Regions from separate parts of the Homo sapiens genome. Here region 1 is linked to region 2. Evidence: promoter capture Hi-C in 16 types of primary human blood cells and fetal thymus (Javierre and others, 2016). All regions are on one chromosome and are shown on one strand. Each heading gives the region's core, a stretch centred on a gene start or on the middle of the fragment in contact. The rest is flanking DNA. Distances are from core to core; before and after follow the strand shown.

Evidence for each region. Contacts are between HindIII fragments. The CHiCAGO score rates a contact against its expected background, and 5 or more counts as called.
Region 1: a contact is called between a fragment that was not itself captured here and the fragment with the promoter of EIF4E in region 2, in 1 of 17 cell types (fetal thymus). The highest score is 6.9, in fetal thymus.

The regions. Positions count from the first base shown.
Region 1 is chr4:95,153,309-95,157,180 of GRCh38, reverse strand. BMPR1B (bone morphogenetic protein receptor type 1B) reads right to left here. Exons shown (of 13, transcript NM_001203.3): 13 at 1-2,633. The coding sequence ends at 2,508. Among named protein-coding and RNA genes, the nearest start is that of UNC5C, 390 kb to the left of the region's middle. The HindIII fragment of the contact is 1,070 bases long and covers 1,709-2,778 here.
Region 2 is chr4:98,927,817-98,931,412 of GRCh38, reverse strand. It overlaps EIF4E (eukaryotic translation initiation factor 4E), which reads left to right and starts at 2,280. Exons shown (of 7, transcript NM_001968.5): 1 at 2,280-2,318. The coding sequence starts at 2,301. RefSeq lists an enhancer at 687-1,886. The HindIII fragment of the contact is 5,241 bases long and covers 612-3,596 here.

The DNA of each region.
Region 1 (3,872 bases), core at 994-3,493, 3.8 Mb after region 2:
CCAATCTTTTCCAAAGCAACCAAATATAATAAGGAAGAAGTTTGAAGACTATTTTAATTTCTTCCCATCCTTCATTGGAACCAACACCTCCCTAGAAATCTAGCTTAATTTCAAATCATCACCTCCTCACAAAATATTCTGATTTGACGTTATCCACGTTCAAGTATTTACCAAAAAGAAAACATAATTTTATCTACAAGGTAAGCCCAACCTCACTTAAATTTAGGAAAAACCCAAGAAACAAAAACATGACCCACTTAACTGGCATAAATGTTTACCTGTTGTTTTGTAGATGATCTGTTTAGAGGCACTGAAGTTTCTCTTCAAGGCTCAGATGATTAGTCACACTTAGTTCTAACCATATATTCCTTCTAGGCTATCCCTAAGAATATAACTGACACAAGAGAAAGGAACCTTTACATTATTATTGAGGTTATTTTTAATATCAATTGAAGCAGCGTTCTGATTACAGTTCTACTTGTTTTCTAACTGTTTTCACTCTTTAAAAACACAATTTTTTTTTTTTCAATTTCAAGGATTACGAAATTCTTCTGTCTTAGTTACAAACAAAATGCAGCTATGAAGCACTGGGAAGTAAATGCAAAATATAGAAAGAATCTTCATGATTCTCCCAAACTGTAAGCACAGCTCACAAAGTCTCATTGCTTTAGAATGTTTTCTGGATGAACAAGTTACCAGCTGCAAACCGACTTCAGAAGTGAGGAAAATGTTTTCTCATGTTTCATGTAGCTGTCAAATTTTCAAAAATCCTCCATCCTTCAATCACCCAGTGGGGAAAATGTGTTATAAAACACTGCCCCCTGGAGTATTCTGGGAGGAATGTCTTAAAAAAAAAAAAAAACAGCAAGGAGAAAGTACTTTCAAATTCTTTACTAACCACTAACAGAATTTCTAAGAAGCAAAAGAAAACCACAGAAAGGAAATGTATATGAATAAAGTTGAGCAGGATGTGTACAACTTTAAACTGTATTGTATTCATGTTGCTAAACAATATTGGCCTTCTCGATGATTTTATTCATGTTGCTCCAAAGTTAAAACCCTGTAGAACTAAGTAGGTGAAGAGATATTTTGTATAAGTGCCACAGAAGAGAAAATATAATAAATTAAATAGTGAATTGAGCATCACTAGAATAAAATAAAATGAGTAGGCATTCCTAAGATGTGAAATGATCACCTAAGATATACATGCTCCAACCATATTGATTTTAGAACAAAACACAGCAGCCCATAACAGTTTGTGGCCTCTACTAACTGTCCTCTGCTGTCCCATCTAGAGGTTATGTTTCTCTATTTTTAAAATAAAATGTAGTTAAATTAGCCTGACGGATGTTTCCTCTCTATCCCTTATCTCAGACACATACAAAACAGACAGACAATAACAAAAAGACATCATCTTTATCTGTACAAAATAAGGTATGCACACTTTTTTCTTTGTGCTTCTGAGATTGGCTCCTTTGCATATATAAGATACAAGCCATCTGCACGATCACCCTCATTTCCTATCTTTGTTGACATGTTCCTCTTACAACACAAGAGCAAATTACCTCTATTTGAAAGCACCCTGTCTTCAACACAGCTCATGACAATTTTATTTAATATTGATCCTTTGAATGAGAGATCAAAAGCATGCACAGGTCAATCCTCTGCACATTAAAAAAAAAAAAAAAAAAAAAAAAAAAAAAAAGCTTTCTTTGTGTTTAATGAAAAGGGTTTTACCATGAAAGAGATGCCTAACTCAATCAGAAACAGAAGTGGATCTGAAGAACACCTATCAACAATTACTTCTATTAGAGTCACATAAACCTTCATTTGTTCCATATTGCCTGAAGCTGCAAAAGGCCACCTGCAGGAATTCCAAATGTGGTCCTAGACAGGCGGTGTTTGTACCCAGTGCATTCACATTACCATAGCGGCCCCAAATGCAGGGATGGCCAAAGTGGTCTGAGGAGGCCAAGACGGGGTGGGGAGTATGTTTAAGATGAGTTCCGTTCTATGTCCTCCAACTTAGACTGTCTTTTGGTTCACAGAGTGCAACAATATTTTACCAATGGAAAAACAAGTATTTTAATTTACCTTCCAGCAGAGTTCCTGGGAAGAATTTTGTTGTTATTATTTAAACTATAATACTATAACCCTTAAACCATCCACATTATCTGTTTTATTTTGGCAAAATGAAAGCATCTTAAAAAAAAAAAAAGGCAATCACAAAATACAGGGCTTTCTTAGAAAGCAACATGCATCATATCTTGAACAAGTTACCCAAGCGGTTTCTCCGTCCTACAAACAGACATGGATCAATCTCTCCTTCTGGGAGCTTCTCTGTCTTTGCCCAGGTCGCTCCCTGAGAGGTGAGGTCTGAACCCACTGGGAAGCAGGACGATGTTCAAGGCTTGTACTGTGGATGCTTATTTGATGTCTTTTGCTCTGCCCACAAACAGAAGAGTACCTGTTGGCTTTCTGCAGAGATGCTTACTTTTCCTCTCCTATCAGAGTTTAATGTCCTGGGACTCTGACATTTTGGCAAGTGTTTTCTTAACCCGCAGGGCTGTCAGCCTTGATGCAGGATTGTGAGCCCAGCATTCTGTCATGAGTTTTCCCATCTGCCTTAGACACTGAGGAAGAGAAATGTTAGAAAAATGTATCATCTGCAAGGCTGGCACCTGTTACAATGTAGCTTTTTAGTTTTAGGTTCATTAAGTTTGAATATATTTTTAAAAGGTACCCTTAAAACCATGTAGAAGTAAAATTCTGTAAGCTTTTTTCATGCAAAATTATATATGACTAAAACAGATGTTCATGTCTTCTTTGTGATAGAAACAAGCAGGTGGTTCTGCTGATTGTAGAAAGGTGTCTTTGAAATTAGTGTTAAGCAAACATAAAAATACCCAGGGAGTCTGTATTCCACTCAATACTCCCAGATTGTTTATAACACTTGATAAGTTTTAATCTTTTATCTAATTCCATACTATGCAAACAAACACAGTTATTCCTAAATCATAGCTGTCTGCTGCAGTAATAGCATCACACTGCACCATTTAACAAGATTAATGACCTGTGCACAGCATCACTAAAACTTTCTCCTGTGGTACATCAATTATTGGTCTTCCTATTGAAAAGTACAATTTCACTTCATAAGAAATCCTCAGTGAAGAGATATCAAGTAACACCAAAAGCCCACAATAACAGAGCTCCAGCATCTCATAAAGCTTTCTGCACAGCTTGCTGGAAAACGTATATATTATTTAGCATTTTAGTAACCAGACACAAAACCAATGAGCCAAAGGTGTTTTTGTTTTTGTTGTTGTTTGTTTATTTGTTTTAAGACAGGGTCTCGGTCTGTCGAGTGCAGTGTCATGATCCTGGCTCATTGCAACCTCCGCCTTCCGGGTTCAAGCAATTCTCGTGCATCAATCTCCCGAGTAGGTGGGAATACAGGTGTGCACCAACACACTAGGCTATTGTTTGTATTTTTTAATAGAGATGGGTTTTCACTATATTGGCCAGGCTGGTCTCGAACTTCTGGACTCAAGTGATCCACCCGCCTCGGCCTGCCAAAGTGCCGGGATTACAGATGTGAGCCACAGTGCCCGGCCCAGAGATTATATTTAAATGGCTTTTACACTTCAGAAATAGTGCTCTGTCCCCCCTTTGCAGTGCTTTGGTACGTTTGATAAGAGCCTGTTTTTTTTTCCAGTGGTGCTTCAAACTCATCTTGAACATTCCAGTCTGCCAGAGAACTCTAGAACATGGTGAGTTTGAAGGCTGCGAGGGTGGAAGGAGAGGAATGTGGAACAGGAGGAGGAGTCAGGAAAGGCAAGACTCATTTCTTCCTTACTAGCCGCTGCTTTCCA
Region 2 (3,596 bases), core at 1,031-3,530:
GGGGAGGACAGGGGAGGGGAGGGGAAGAGAAGGGAAGGGAAGGGAGGGGAAGGGTAGGGAAGGGAGAGGAAGGGTGGGGAAGGGTGGGGAAGGGGAAAATAGGACATCTATGCTGTCTTTTTCTCTTCAAAGAAGGTAACCTGACACCACTTCTAACCAGCAGAAAATAACAACGCGGTCAACAGAATTATTTTGGATAGTCTAAGTAACAGTAGATAGTCTCTGTAAGTAGAAATCCACTTATCCGTTTATTATCATTTTTTTTTTTTTTTTGGAAATGGAGTCTCACTGTGTCGCCCAGACTGGAGTGCAGTGGCGGGATCTTGGCTCACTGCAACCTCCACCTCCCAGGTTCAAGTGATTCTCCTGCCTCAGCCTCCTGAGTAGCTGAGACTACAGGCAGGTGCCACTATGCCTGGCTAATTTTTGTATTTTTAGTAGAGACAGGGTTTCACCATGTTGGTCAGGCTGGTCTCGAACTCCTGACCTCAGGTGATCCGCCCGCCTTGGCCTCCCAAAGGGCTGTGATTACAGGCGTGGGCCACTGCGCCTGGCCTGTTAATTCTATCTACTTTAAAACCTAGTAGAGCTAAGCCCACTAGACAAAAGCTTTCATTAATCACTTCTGATATTCAGGTAAACCAAAACATATGAACAGGCAATGGCTTTGAGTTCTCATACAGCCTCAATTATGTGTTAGTCAACTCAAGCATCCATTATGTACTCAATAATAGGTATGACACAGCTCTGGACCTCATTAACACTATAAGCAGACAGGCACAGGCAGCCTGCATACACTCCTTTTCCTGGTGTCAACATTATTTAAAAGCATGGGAAATAGTAATGAGACAGTGTCTTCTTCATTAGAACCTTAGGAGTCTACTAGATTTCTTCATCTCTATTTGTTGTTATTAGTAGCCAAACTGTGCAAAAAACACGGTCTTGAGAAATGACAGCACAGTATCTTAGAGGGAAAGGAAATGTAGGATGCCAGTGTGGGGACAAATTTCTGATTGCCAGTGATTGTTGTGAGCATAACAATAATTTCATGAACATTAAAGCCTCTATTGAGGGCAGCTGCAGTTGTAAAGGAAAAAAAATGGTCCTGAACATTTAAAACTACACTGGTGTACATCATAATCAAACAAAGTAAACAGAAAAAAATTTAAACTTTGCTAAAAAAAAAAAGCAGAAGCACTTGATCTTTAGGAAGGCACGCAGTTGCTTATTATGAATCATTTCTAGAGTCCGATGCATTTTCAAAGCCGGTTACAGTCATTACGAAGCACACCCTTGTGAGGTAAGTGTATCATCACCTTTGGTTCATAAATAAAAAAGCTGAGACGCCGAGCGATTAAGTCACTCGCCTAAGGAGAATGAGTCAACGTCAAGAGTCATAGTTGACCCGGCCTAAAGACTCCAGACCATCAGTCCAGGGCTTAGTCAGCGGGGCCCGGAGTGGCTTCCCTGGCTGGCATCTGGACTTAGGCTATTTCCGTGCACGTAAAAGCGGAATATTGGAACGGTTGCACAGAACTTCCAAATAATTTTTACCGCCACGCAAGATTTAGCCCTGAGGTCTTAATCTCAGGATTTGGGACAGTAAAAGCTGTCGTCCCTCCCCCTCGTCCAGCCGGTGGCAAGCGGGTACTGCGGGCGGTTCCGTCCGTCCCCTTTCGCAGAAATGGCAACGAATGACCACCAGCATTAGCTGAGCCAGGGGACGTGGGAGGGTTGATTGCCTAAACGACTCTGCATCGCCGCCTCTTTTTGAAACTAAGAGAAAATGGTGGGAGATCAAAAGAAAACTAAATAAACACACAGGCAACTTGTCCTGGGACCTCAACTAAGCAAATGAAGCCTTATTGTGTGTGCTGAGCCTGCAGTTCCCAACCTTCCGGGGAAGATGGGAGGACAGGGCGACAAAGGGCACAGTAGGCTTGCCTGGCAGTAAGTGTGACCGCAGCTATCCAGGCGGAAGAGCAGAGGACTGAAACCACCCTCCAGCAAGCGAGTGTCCGCCGCGTTGAGAACCGCGCACCCTACCCATCGGCCACGTGACCAGTCCTTTTTAAAAAAAATTTCTTTACCTTAAAAAAAAAAAAAAAAAAAAGGTGGGGGAGAGACTCCACTTCCCAGAAGCCTCTCGTTACTCACGCAGCCGCAGTCTTGCGCAGGTGCCGCCAGGGCCAAACGGACATATCCGTCACGTGGCCAGAAGCTGGCCAATCCGGTTTGAATCTCATTTTTTTCCTCTTACCCCCCCTTCTGGAGCGGTTGTGCGATCAGATCGATCTAAGATGGCGACTGTCGAACCGGTGAGTATTGCCTTTGGCCCCCACCCCCACGGGTCCCCGCGCTCCGTCTTCCTTCTGACTGGGGGACTCCGCGGGACGGCGTTCCCGGCGCGCACTGTACCCCTTGCCGCCCCTTCCCCTTCATGTTGGACCTGACCTCCCGCGGACAAGTGGGGACGTCCCGGAGGATGGCCGAGGCGGCGTGTAGCGCACACTTTCTGGTGGGGGCCCGAGAACTGGGGGAGCGGTGTGGGGGAGGGGCGGCGTGGCGCCTCCTGCGGAACCGCGAGGTGTCTACAGGGTGGAGGGTAGCTGGGGTTCTGGGCTGGGTATGCGAGGATGGTGTCTTCATGATAGGAAGGCGCAGGGCCGGCTCCCAGCGAGTACTGGGATCCGCAGGCAGGGTGGGCGGCGAGCCGGCCTGGAGTGAGATGGAGGAGGGAGCCCTGGAGCAGCCTTTCCCTCCCTGCAGAACCCCAGCTCCGGGGCTCGGGTGCGGGGCGCGCGCACGTCTTCCTTAGACCGGTGGACTGGGGAGCTGGTGGGCGAGTGTTGCCGGAGGGTGGGTTAGGCGGGAGTGGTGCCGCGGCACGCGCGGAGGAGCTTCGACCTCGCTTAGGGGAGTTGAGAGGGGCGAGCGTCTGTTAATCCAGCGCGCCGGAGAGTTGCCGGTGTTTGCGCCAGGGGAAGCGAGAAAGGTCTGGGGTGGGAAGGAACACTCGTGTGTCACGGTGAAGCTCTCCAAGTAGAATGAGGGATGGTGGTGGTGAGAAGGGGTATCACATTGTCCTCGCCCCTCCATGCTTGGGACTGGGCTGTCATGGAGGAGGGAAGGGGGAGGAGCGAGGCCTACAGATCGCTGTAGCCGGTCGGCTTGCCGGCCGGACCTGCTGCATTTCACACGCGCCCGTCTTCCATTCATTCATCCTTTCCGCGTAGTGCGCACGCCTCAGAGAATGCGAATGGGTCTCAATCCCTCTGTTCTTCCGAGTCTTTATCTCCTGGAAGATTTCTGAGACGCAGTTTATTGGAAATAGAAACTTTTAAATTTACTTTTCCATTTGACTTTTTTTTTCTCTTTATCTATGCTACAGACTTTCATTTCAATTTAGGCACCATTTTAAACTTAACTGAAGCAAGCTGGTCCCAGGGTAGGTTTGTAGTTAATCTTTAAGCAGAGGGTATATTTTTCATAATTTGGGTTTGCCAGGACTGGCTCACTGAAACTTCTGGGCCCTGTTGCCTTTTTAGAAACGACACAGCTAAGTGAAGATATCTTGTGTGCATAATGGGGTTTAT